Regions from separate parts of the Homo sapiens genome. Here region 2 is linked to region 1. Evidence: promoter capture Hi-C in human tissues and cell types (Jung and others, 2019). All regions are on one chromosome and are shown on one strand. The core of a region is centred on a gene start or on the middle of the fragment in contact, and the rest is flanking DNA. Distances in the headings are between cores, read along the strand shown. Region 1 holds the start of SLA (Src like adaptor). Region 2 overlaps TG (thyroglobulin).

Region 1 (6,090 bases), core at 3,591-6,090:
CTGTATATATATACACACATGCATAATGTGTTACATATTATATATATTTATGTGTGCGTGTGTATGTAGAGAGAGAGAAAGAAGCAGGGCTGGTGAGGTTTGCATGTGAAGTTGATTTCTGAAGGTTCCTATCTGGAAGGTGGGTGTGGCATGTGAGCAGCGATAGAGTTCTCTCTGAGGGTGTATGAGTGAGTGTGTGTGTGTTGCAAGGGGGGGTGTCAAGTAAAACTTAGTCACCCTCAGCTTGCATCTAGCTAACTCACAGCCAGGGCAAAATACCTTTTGTACCTGATCCATTTCAACATTTTTTCTGCCAAGCACTCACATACAGCATAGCCCTTACCCTGAGGGGCTGAGATTTTATTATTGGACAAGACAACCATTCAGGAATCACTGGAAATGTGCCACTCTCCTCCACTGCCTCAGAGTTTGTAGTCTCTAAAACAGGGATCCTCAAGTTGCTTCTGATCAAGCCCCTCATCAGTTAAGAAATAGTAAGTTTAGTTATTTAAGTATAAATTATATACATGTGTACTCTTGTACTAATACCCTGAATTATTATAAACCCTTTATTGAATCAAAAGAATGTTAAAGCAAGAGAAAGAAATGGAAGTTCTAGTCTTAGTATTCTCTTGCTGCCCCTAAACACTGTCCGCCCTGGAGACAGTACTCTGAGGCATGGGCAGACTGGGATGGAGCTGGCCATTGACCAGGGACAATTTCCCACTCACCTCCTTATTTGATACCCTCCTACAGGGGATGCAAAATCTCTGTGCACAAGACACCATGTCCTCACAGCTCTGGTTCTTTGGACCATGTACTGAAAACTTTTCATGGCCATCTTCGACTTTTGAAAGAGAGGAAGAACTAATTTTATATTCCCAGGAGCCTTGGGATCAGCCTAGAAAGGGCTGATGGGGCTAGGGAGGAGGGCGGCCCTGTGGTTAGTTCCCAGACCTCTCCCAACTCAGTGGAAATGCCATCCATCAGGGAGGGTGAGGGGGTTGTTCTTGTTGGCAGATCTGGGACCATGGTGTTCAGAGGGTAGCCCAGGCTCATGTTTTCTGATTATGCCCGTTCATTGTGAGAGGGATGACTGTGGGCTCATGGCTGCCTTGGGCTTCCCTGGTTCAAGCACGGTCCCAGGAGTGTCTAGAAGTTTCCTAACTTTGTCCTGAATTCCTTAACCAGTCCAGCCAGAGACCTGAATCCAGAGGACTGGGATCTCTACTCAAGGATGCATTTGCATTCTTCTCATTGAGCTTCCCTCTAAGGTTTTTAAGGAAAGCTTACTTTGTTTACTTGCAAAGAAAGATGGGGCCACCAGCAGGAGGCTCACTGCCAAACAGGGGCCTGGCTGGAGAAGCCAGCATTGAAGTTGGGCACCCCCAAATAGAGAAGCCTCTCTAAGGGCACAGCAGAGCAGCTGCTAGCCCTGCTCCATGGCGGTCATCCCAGACACCAATCACAGGGCAGTGTTCCCCCAGCACATTTGTTCATTGGTTAGACCGTTCGTTTCTGGCTTCGCTTCTTCATTCATTCCCTTGGGACACGCATTAGTGAAGCCACTGAGCAGCTTTTGTGAGCCTGCATCCTGCCAAGAACTCATCTAGGTGCTAATTGATGAGGAGGACTACCTGCAGCAGGAGAGTAGTGACGGTGGGACTGGAAGCCAGCTCACAGCTCAGTGCCACTGCATGCAATCATCTCCTAAACATGTGTCTGCACACAGATTTATTCCTCCTGGACTTTTCCCTTGAACTCTGAACTGGTTTAGCCAATGGCCCACTTGACATCTTCACTTACATGTCTCATAGTGTCTCATCCATAACACACCCAAAGTGGACTGCCGATTCCACCTCTGCTCCCATCCCCAACCAGCATGTTCTTCTGTAGTCTTCACCATCTCAGTAAACAACTCAGCAACTAAACAACTCATCCTTCTGTACTCAGGCTCAAAACCAAAAGTCATTCCTGACACTGCTCTCTCATACCCTACCAGCATTCTATCAGAAAATCCAGCTGGCTGTATTTTCCAAATGTATCCCAAATCCAAACCCTGCTCCCCTACCTCTTCTGCTATCACCCTGATCCAGCCACTTTATTTGAGATTTTTGTGCTAGCCCCCAACTCTCTCTCTGCACCTGCCTTGCCTCTTATAATCTATGAGAAGCACAGTAGCCAGAGCAATCCCTTTATAAGTCAGACCATTTTACTCCTCTGCTCCAAGCCTTCTCTCCAGTGGCCTCCTCTCATGCAGAGGAAAATTCCAGTCTTCTATGAACTGCCAGAGCCTATTTGATGTGACCTCTGTTAGCTCTCTGACCTTAACTCCTGCTGTTCCCTCTTGGCTCACTGGTTTATCCCTTTAGAGTTTCTCAAATAGGCTGAGCACATCCCATATCAGGGTCCTGGTACTTGCTGTTTTTTCTTCTGGAATGTTCTTCCCAGACAACTCACTGCCTTACTCCCTTCAGGGTCTGCTTATCAGAAAGACCTTGCTTGACCACTTGGATTCAGAGGGAAGCCATATCCCCAGCCTTCTCTATCCCTACATCCTACACCCTACCCCAGCACTCAAACCTCCTGCCATATTATGTATTTGTCTGTTGTCTTTCTTCCCCAACTAGAATGTTTGAAACTGCTATATCTCTGGTGCCTAGAAATGTTTCTAGTTCTGCTAGACAAATTGCACACAGCAGGCACACAATAGACATTCACTAGGATGAATGAATGAAATTATGAAGAACTGACTATGTGCTGGGCCCTAACCTGGAAGTCTTCAATGAAATAATTCACCCTCACAACTATTACCCTATGAGGTGGGGATTATTATTACTATTTTTCAGAGAGAAACCAGAATTAAAACCCAGTTCTATCTGCCTCCAAATATCCTCTTCCCATGACGTCACTCTGGGAAAAGCCAGGCTTTCCTCTGAGAGCCTTCCATCTACCATCAACGGTATGCTGGGTACTGAAATGTACACAAACCCAGCTAGAATAAAGGCTACTATGTGCAAAGGGCTTTCCAATTCTACCCACATTCTTTTTTTTCTGTAGTCATTTATTGATTTATTTATAATTTTAAAATTTCAATAGCCTTAGGGGTTAGCCTAAGTGAAGTAACTCATGCTCTTACTTTACGTTATCTCAACTGTATGGCTGTGAGGTAGGGAACCATGAACCAGTATTTAACACGATTTTTTTTCTGGGAAAGAAAGGCTTAGTGAGGTTTACCGGGTGTCTCTAGGTCAGCTAACTAGTCCTTTGGAAAGCCAAGTCTCCACTGCAGGTCTCTGACCCCAATTGCAGGGCAGGAGTGGGGAGGGTGGCGGGTGGCAGGCTCTACCCATTACCCTATCTGTGATAAACACTAGGTCAGGGATGCGCTATCACCACCTTACCCCCACCATACGCAAGCATCACCTAGAGAGATCCTCAGGATTCTACCCCACACAGAACTGCAAGAGGGCACAGTGGACAACCAAGTGGAAACTGAGTTATGAGCTATGCTCCCACCCTCCCAACAGTGAGGAAACTCCTCTGGACTTCAACCCAATGTGCCCTTGTATTGCCCTCCCTTGCCTCAGCCCACTCCCAACCTGAATTTAGAGTTGGGCTTGTGCATTTCTCTGTTTGCCCCAAGAAGGCTCCATGGCACCTGGGTCCAACCACCATCAGCCAAGGAGGACCTGAAGATGGCAGGTTCTGGAGGGCCTCAATCTCAGCCATGCCTTTTACTCCATCCTCTGTCCTTTGATACCCACCCAGCCCCTCCTGCCCCATCTGGGGCTGAGAAACAGGACATATCAATTGCAGTAAATTGCCACATCCACCTAAACAGGGTGTCCAGCATGTTTTTGTAACACCAACACCTGTTTGTTTAGTCATGCTGGGCCAGGTGTTTCAGCATAAAATACAAATTGAATTCCTCCCCTCAGAAGGGCTTGCAGTCAGATGATAACAGACAAGGCAAACAACTGAAACACCATTGATACATACTATATGGAGAGATGGACATCTATTCCAAGACCTCAGGAGGTGGAGATCAGGTGCCATTGGGCCCCATAGCAGCACTGTCAGCTGGAGTGACACAATGGCCAGGAACTGACCAGGACCCCGCTCCCTTGGTCATGTGTCAACACAGCAGGGAGAGTGTCCTGGGTGTCCTTGGATTGCAATCACGAGCATCCAAGTTACCCAGAGTCTGAGCCTCAGTTTCCCTATCTGTGAAGTTGGGAGATGATTAGTAAATATCCTCATAAAGATGTTCAAAAATTCAAATACACAACAATATCTGGAAAATAGTTTGGCTTCAATAAATGTTCGTTCTTTTCCCTTAATTTTTTAATTTTAATATTAAGATTAGTGTCCAAAGCTGTTATCCCTTCTTCAGATAATTATACACAGAAAGCAGGAATACAAAGAACGTCCAATCTCTGAACCACCTCAGCTGACCTGAGACCAATTTTCCAAATTGTAGTAAACACAAATGCATGCTCTCTACTCATGCCAACGCTGCATAAGTATCAGCTGGATCCCAGTCCACAAACACATGCAGTGCAGCTTCCCAGGGAAGTCACGGAGGGACAGGAGTGGAGCCTCTTACCCCAAGTCCTGCCCCCTGGAGCTACTCACCACCAGCAGAGACCCACCCATTTTCTTCAGACCAAAGACGGAGGGTGGGTACAGGATCCATCAAGTCCCTCTGAAGACCCTCCCCCACATACCACCCCAGGCCACCTATGGCCCACCCAGGGGGTCCCAATGACAGCAAAGTTAGCAACCTACCGGTGGAGCATCAGGGCTGCCTGAGATGTTCTCCATTCGCAGCAAATGATCTTATTTTCTGAAGTAGCAGCTTTCTATTGAAATTCTTCATCAGTCGCTGTCATGGGGAATTTCTCCCCCTTTTCTCTTTCTTTCTAACTGGTGAAATTGACAGTCTGCCTACATTATCCAGGCATTCATTTGCATGATCAAAAGCAGATTTGTTCCAAGATGCAATGTTCTGCCTTCCCTTCCAAGCACAGGCATCTCCAAGGAAGGCGAGAAAAATCAGAAACAGAGCGCCTCCGCTGTGCCCCTAAGCTTGGCCAGGAGTTGGCCTCGTCTGGGAGCAGGTGGAGTGGGGGCCCTGTGGGTAGCAGTAGGGGGAGGGCAGCCCATGTGGGAGTTGGAAAGCAGCACCTGGCAGCCCGAGGCGCTGGCACGAGCCCCAGCACAGGAATATCCAGTCTTTGGTGACAGATTATAGTAAGAGGAGTATGCAGGAGTTTCCAGTGTGTGTGTGATTTCCTGAAAGGAGGCACTGCTGCCTTAAATCCCCAGCACTCAGGGACGGGAGGGTGTTAGGGTCTGAACCCAGGGCATCGCGGGGACCTGGATTCAGAAAAATGGGTCACAATTCTTAGCTTTAGCCACACGATGTAGGAGAGTTGCTGAACTGGTCTGAGCTGCAGTTTCTTTAGCCTTCAAATGGACACAGTGAGAGCCACCCTGTCTGTCTCTTGCAGTGTTATAAGAAGCGAAAGAGGTATCTCCCAACACCCAGAGAGCCCTGTAGGTCTCATGGCTCTAGGATGCCCTTGCACACTGTAAACCCTCCACCCTGGAGCTATAGCCCCACATTACCCCTCACAGCTGACGCTTACACGTCACGTTGTCTAATTCTCCCCAGGGGCCCTGTGAGCTGGGATTATGGTTCAGAGAAAGCTGAGGATCAGAAGGACTGACTTGTCCCCCCCAAAATATTAAAATATTGTATTTCATGACTGCATTGTTATAAGGATGAATGTAAACCAGGCTGGATTCATTATTACATTTTCATTATTATTATATTTTTTCTTCTGATTTTAAAAGAAATTAGAAAGAAAAGACTTTTGTGAGTTCCTAAAAGTGCAGTGAGCCCTTGGCCCTGAGCAAGCTGTGCTTGATGGAGAAGTAAGTCCTTGTCCCTTAACACCATAAGGAGCAGTGAAGTCAGGAGTCATTCAAGCATTAACCCATGCAGCATCTCTCCAACATAGATTATTCAGAGGCTTCTGTGCGCTGGACTCTCTCTAGGCTTTAGAGGGCACAGTTGTAACC
Region 2 (6,256 bases), core at 3,757-6,256, 220 kb before region 1:
TTCACTGGTCCTTCTGACTCATGCCCCATCTTTTATATTGCCCTAGCCCAACCAGTAACTGTGGACACACATTCTGACCAAGCAGATCATAAGTAAAGGTCTTAAGAGCCTTCAAGCAGGGCTAATGCCATTGTCAAAGCCTTAATGATCTGAGTTAATTGGCTTCTTTATTAACCCTTGTCCTTAATGACTAAACACACTCAAACTTCTTAGCAACCAGTCTAACTTCAAATGCCTTAGCCACCCATGCTACCCAGATTGCCCAGTGGGAAGAAGGATCAGATGTGTCTTAATATATGGTAAAGGGGCATTGTAACCAGAATGTGGAAGGTACTGTATGGAGAAATCCTCACTGGGGAAGCACCAGATCACCCTCATTACAGACACCTGTGGTGGTTGGCTATGCATCAGGCGCTCTGCTAGGCTACGGCCCCCTCTTATTTTATTTTATTTTATTTTATTTTTGAGACAGAGTCTTACTTTGTCACCCAGGCTGGATTGTAGTGATGGGATCTCAGCTCACTGCAACCTCTGCCTCCCAAGCTGAAACAATTCTCCTGCCTCAGCCTCCCAAGTAGCTGGGATTACAGGCATGCGCCACCCCACATGGCTAATTTTTGTGTTTTTACTGGAGACGGGGTTCACTATGTTGGTCAGGCTGGTCTGAAACTCCTGACCTCAAGTGATCCACCCACCTCAGCCTCCCAAAGTGCTGGGATTACAGGTGTGAGCCATGCCCGGTACGGCCCGCTCTTTTAAGGAGCACCCTCCCTAGTGCAGGACAGAATGAAATACATGGCTCATTTGTGAGTCAGTGTTTAGATTTCCAAAGAACTGCCTGTGGGAGATGTTAGAGAATCTGACTGAGCCCGGAGGCAGGAATCGTACTCTGCGAATGAACAAGACCAGATGCCCAGTGGAGACCAGAATTTCGCATTCCTCTGAGCCTTGGTTGTAATTTCTCTGTCTAGGTTGGCTGTAATCTGAGCATAAACTCAGAAATGCCACCCCTTGCCCCTCTGCTAGCATTTGCTTTCTTGAGGATTCTTCTATGGCCACCCTGAGATTTTGCTTTTTATTCAACAAAAGGCAAACATCCTTTTCCACTAGATTGTGGGCATACAGAAAATTAGGAAGATTCTGAGCTTGAACTCACTGGTGATTGCTCTGTTGGAGTGGTAGTCCAAAATATGGTATTTTTCAATTTTTAAATATTGTGTAGATTTTGTCTTCCTCCTTTCTTCTGATATGCCCAAAACAGGATAAAAATGGAAATTAGAGGGAATCATGAGGAAGGCAAAATAAAAGTAGAAAATCAGAATAAGGCAAGGCAAAGATTGGCCCACATCACTCATTCTACACAGTCCTAACAAATGTGAGGGGCTGCATATTTGGCTCTGGGATCCCTGTAACCAAAGAAAAGAAAAAAATAGTCTAAGTTACTTGGTTTCTACAAGATAAAAATAAGAGTTTCTCAGGGGTCACAATGTTTTCTTCTATTGATGATGGAGGGAACTTGGTTCCTCGGGTCCTCATGAAGGGGGGAACACTGTATGCCACAGGGGACCATCTGACTTGACAATGTCCTGCTGCTGAAGGACCAGTGGTTTCCAAAGGCCAATGCCTATAAAAAGCATCTTCAGGTCCAGCGCGCTGGCTCACACCTGTAATCCCAGCACTTTGGGAGGCCAAGGCGGGCAGATCACGAGGTCAGGAGATTGACGCTATCCTGGCTAAGATGGTGAAACCTCGTCTCTACTAAAAATACAAAAAATTAGCTGGGTGTGGTGGTGGGTGCCTGTGGTCCCATCTACTTAGGAGGCTGAGGCAGGAGAATCACTTGAACCTGGGAGAATCACTTGAGCCAAGATCGCACCACTGCACTCCAGCCTGGTGACAGAGCGAGACTCTGTCTCAAAAAAAAAAAACAAAAAAAAAACAAAAAGTGTCTCCAGGTGCTGTATTTCAGAGGCTGCGAATGTTGGGTCCTGGCATTCTCTACCAGACTTGTACCTCCCTCGGTGACTACCAATATCTCAGTTTTCCTTGCTGCCCACACCTTGGTTCTGTCTCCCACCTTGAAGTTGGAGGCATGCAAACGACCCTTCTAGATATGTTCTTCACTCCTCTGTTATCTCCTGGTCAAATCACCATTCGTGGCTTTAGAATCCCACTCAAACTCACCTCCTTTGGGGACATTCTTTGGTCCAGCTGGCCCAAGGCTAGGGATGGAGCCTGACTCTCCAGCTTTCATCAGGGCTTTGGGTTCGGTCTCAGTAGTTTGACTTCTTTTGGTTGATGTGGGGCAGGAGATCTAATAAGGAGGAGGCTGAAAGCATGACAGAACCCCTGTTCCCTGATGACAGTGAATCACTACTGACAGTAGCAGAATAACAGCTAAACAATCTTCATGGTGCTAATTATTATTTTGGAGAAGGAGTCCAAAATGCATAGATGGTGATATCATTTCAGAAATTAGCCACAGAAATCAAATTGTATCAAATGGAATTGTGGGCACACAGGAAATTGGGAAGATTCAGAGCTTGAAATCACTGGTGATTGCAGGGCAGGGCCCCCAAAGGACTGTGCTCTATTGGAGTGGTAGTCTCACCCTTTGGCCACCTGCTGTTGTTGAACGAGCACTGGAAATGGACTTGGGATTCTTGGCCCCTGGTCTTGGCTGGATGATCTTGACCCAGTCACATCACCATGCAGAATCCCAGTTTTCTCATTTGGGAAGTGGAGATTTTTAAAGAGTTGTGAGAATTAAATGAGACAAATATGGAGAGTGTTTGGTCTGATTGTTCATACATATCACTTGTGATTATTTTATGAATAGTAATTAATAGCAACAATCATATTAGCTCTTCTCACTATATACAGAATTAGCAAGAAGGGATTAAAGATGGCAGCACAGGGTGTCTGTCCTAGAGGTCAGCAAAGAACAGCCCTAGAGAGCCCAGAAGGCAGTAACTGGCCTTAGGGTGATCTTACTGGGAGGGTGGGAGGACCCTCTCCAGAGCTGAAGACAGGGTGATCTCCAATGTGCGGGAAGCAGGAATATCAAGAGTGAGGTCCATGCAAAAAACACTGGTAGGTCCAGGTACTGGGCAGTTTATAAGACCAGAAACCCCCAGAGAGGGGCTCTGACCATAAAGTGGTAGGATGAAGATGGCTCAAAGACTGTGGAGGTCATGTCTGCCATGAGCCAGGATGTTGAGGTGGGTCTCTGGGTTGAATTAGCGAAGCATGGAACTAGAGTGATTTAAACGATTTAAACTTGTGCCTCACGCTGGAATGTGTTTCAGAACCCACCTCGGGCCAGCACTTGTGTCATCAACATCTATGAGATGCCAGGAAGAGCGAGGTGCTGGGCATATGGAGCAGTGTCAGACAGAGTCACATGCCTTGCAGGGCAGGATGTAGGACAGAAGCCAGGTGCAGCCAAAAACACACTGAATAACACCACTGGCAGAGATAGGCAGCATGTAGTGGATGAGACCAGGGTTTGAACCCTAGTTCTCACCACTAGTTCAAGACAGTGGCCCATATACCTCACCTTCTTAATCTCTAAAAGGGGGATTAAAATGTACCACCTTCCTTTTAGGAGTGTTAGGTGGATTAAATGAATCAATGTGTATTAAAACATTTTGCAGATAGTCTTTTACAAAGTAGTGCTCAGTAAATAAAAGTTATTATTATACTATTATGAGTATTTTTAAAATTGAATTATCCTAGGCTCTGATGAATGAACTTTTATTATATACCCCCTACCTCCCTATTAGTGGCAACTAAGCAAAGTGAGTTTTTAATATTTGTTATGCAACACGCTTACTGTAACATTCTGTTTAACACACATACACAGAACAATAGATTAATAGCATGGAAAAAAACCTCATCCATAATCCTATAGTGCATTTCTAGCTTTTGTTTTGCATATCCATTTCCATTCAAATTAAATAATAGTTATTAACTTGAATGGAAATTCAAAGCCAGGCTCTCAGCAATTACTACACCACACATTGACTTCCAATACTGATTCAGTTGTACAGTTGTAATTGCAATACATGTATATGGCATTTTATAATCTAACCTTTTTACATAATGTTATACACACTCCCTTTTGGCTAGAATTTTTAAGCATTGTCCTCAATCATAGCATTTTATTATATTTAGGGCATTTACTATAATTTACTTCTTAATTTTCTACTATTGGACATTAAGGTTCTTTTCAATATTTTGCTAGAATAGATTGCACAGCAATTGGCCTATCATTGTACACAGCTGCTGCTTCCGTTAACTTATTGCTGGGAGATATATTTCAGACATAGGTAGAAACACATTATGCTTGGACCTCATATATTAGTTATATAGTTATATAGGGCATGAAAACAAATCTCTAAATGTTATAAAAGATGAACAGTTCCTCTCTGGTTGCTAAATCATTGCACAGGGGTAGAACTCCTCAATATGGCTTTTTATACCTTACCTTTCTATTACTTCTAAGAAAGGGAACCCAGTTGATGAGCTCGTTATAACAATTGCCAGGCCAGATGTGATTAGAGAATCTCTTTCTTCAGTTTACGGAAAGAGATGGATAGCCCTTGTTAGTGATGCTGTATTGATTTGTGTTTTTTTTCAACTATGGGACTGGATACATTTCCTTCTTAAGGATTTCCTGTGGTGGCAGCTGGCTTCTTTTCAAGCTTTTGAAAAGTCGTAAAGGGGCCTGAAGTCATTTGATCTCCCAAAATGAGATAATCTCCAATGTACCATATGTTTGTAAAGCAGACTTGGCCTTTAGTCTCGAGAGCTGTATTCCAGGAAAGGAACCAGTTAATGCGATTTTCCTTGACTGCTTTCTGCCTTGCCCTATGAGACAAACGCATGGGCATAAATTGGTCAAATGCCATAAGTGAGGAAAACGGCTAATTGTTAGACGACAGCTATGCACAGCTTTATTTTACAAGGTCCAGCCTGGTTCCAGCCAGGTTAAACTAATTTGTAAAGGAAATGCATTTACTGCAGGAAGCATGAAGCAACTGTCATGTGATAAGAAAGTAGACATTCCTTTTCACTAGGCGTGGACTTGGCCACATTTATTTCTACAGGAAAAGCTTGTGATGACTTGCCTTTATGAATGGTGACCGTAAATCTCATTCTCTCCAAGGTTTCCAGATGCATTTGTGACCTTCAGTTCCTTCCAGAGGAGGTTCCCTGAGGTATCTGGGTATTGCCACTGTGCTGACAGCCAAGGGCGGGAACTGGCTGAGACAGGTGAGTGATACCCCTCAGGTGATCTGAAGGGAGGGAGTGTGATTCCTCAGGTCTGAAAACCTGGATAACATTGCTTGTAAAGCACAGCTAGAGTGACTGCCTGCCCCCTGCCAGGCTGCTGTGGGCATTGAGGAGGACACAACCTTAGCAAACTGTCATCTTGCAGTATGGTGAATGCAGCTGCTGCTGGCCCACATAGTGCCTTTGTGCACATTGGAAAGAAGTGCCCCGCTCTGGGCAGATGCAGCCCCGAAATTGGCGAGTGGAGCACAGGATGGATTTAATCTCTTATTCTATAAGCACTGCTCCTTTGTTTCTATGAACAGCCTGCACAACCATCCACAGCAGCTCTGACTTTGGAAACTGTTAAAGTGTTGTTCAGACTTATTGCCTAATGATGCTGGTGAAGGCTGTCTCTCTCAGTATCTGTTTGCACAACAAGGTCAGGGCTTCCTTTCTGAATGAGACCATCTCTGAAAGTCTTGCTGTCTTTGCTCAGGTTTGGAGTTGTTACTGGATGAAATTTATGACACCATTTTTGCTGGCCTGGACCTTCCTTCCACCTTCACTGAAACCACCCTGTACCGGATACTGCAGAGACGGTTCCTCGCAGTTCAATCAGTCATCTCTGGCAGATTCCGATGTAAGTAATAAACTGCCAACAATGTGCGTGTTTCCATTAGGGGGACGCCTCTTGGGTTTCAAAGTTGCTATGGTGTGTGTGGCTGCTCCACCAAAGTGAGGGCAGAGATGAAAAGAATCGTTAAGAGCAAACAGCAGTGCATGCTGTGAAGACACCAAGCATTGTTGACACTGTCTTCTTTACTGTGTGGATTTCCTCTAGGCCCCACAAAATGTGAAGTGGAGCGGTTTACAGCAACCAGCTTTGGTCACCCCTATGTTCCAAGCTGCCGCCGAAATGGCGACTATCAGGCGGTGCAGTGCCAGACGGAAGGGCCCTGCTGGTGTGTGGACGCCC

Evidence for each region. Contacts are between HindIII fragments. The study calls those that stand out against the background at their distance.
Region 2: a contact is called between a fragment that was not itself captured here and the fragment with the promoter of SLA in region 1, in 1 of the 25 tissues and cell types used here (bladder).

What each region holds. Positions count from the first base shown.
Region 1 is chr8:133,097,762-133,103,851 of GRCh38, forward strand. SLA (Src like adaptor) reads right to left here and starts at 4,841. Exons shown (of 9, transcript NM_001045556.3): 1 at 4,792-4,841. All of the region lies in intron 43 of TG (thyroglobulin), which reads left to right. The HindIII fragment of the contact is 8,125 bases long and covers 3,190-6,090 here.
Region 2 is chr8:132,876,693-132,882,948 of GRCh38, forward strand. It overlaps TG (thyroglobulin), which reads left to right. Exons shown (of 48, transcript NM_003235.5): 6 at 5,171-5,277; 7 at 5,777-5,920; 8 at 6,122-6,256. Among named protein-coding and RNA genes, the nearest start is that of TG, 13 kb to the left of the region's middle. RefSeq lists enhancers at 5,730-6,231, 6,232-6,256. The HindIII fragment of the contact is 5,308 bases long and covers 2,353-6,256 here.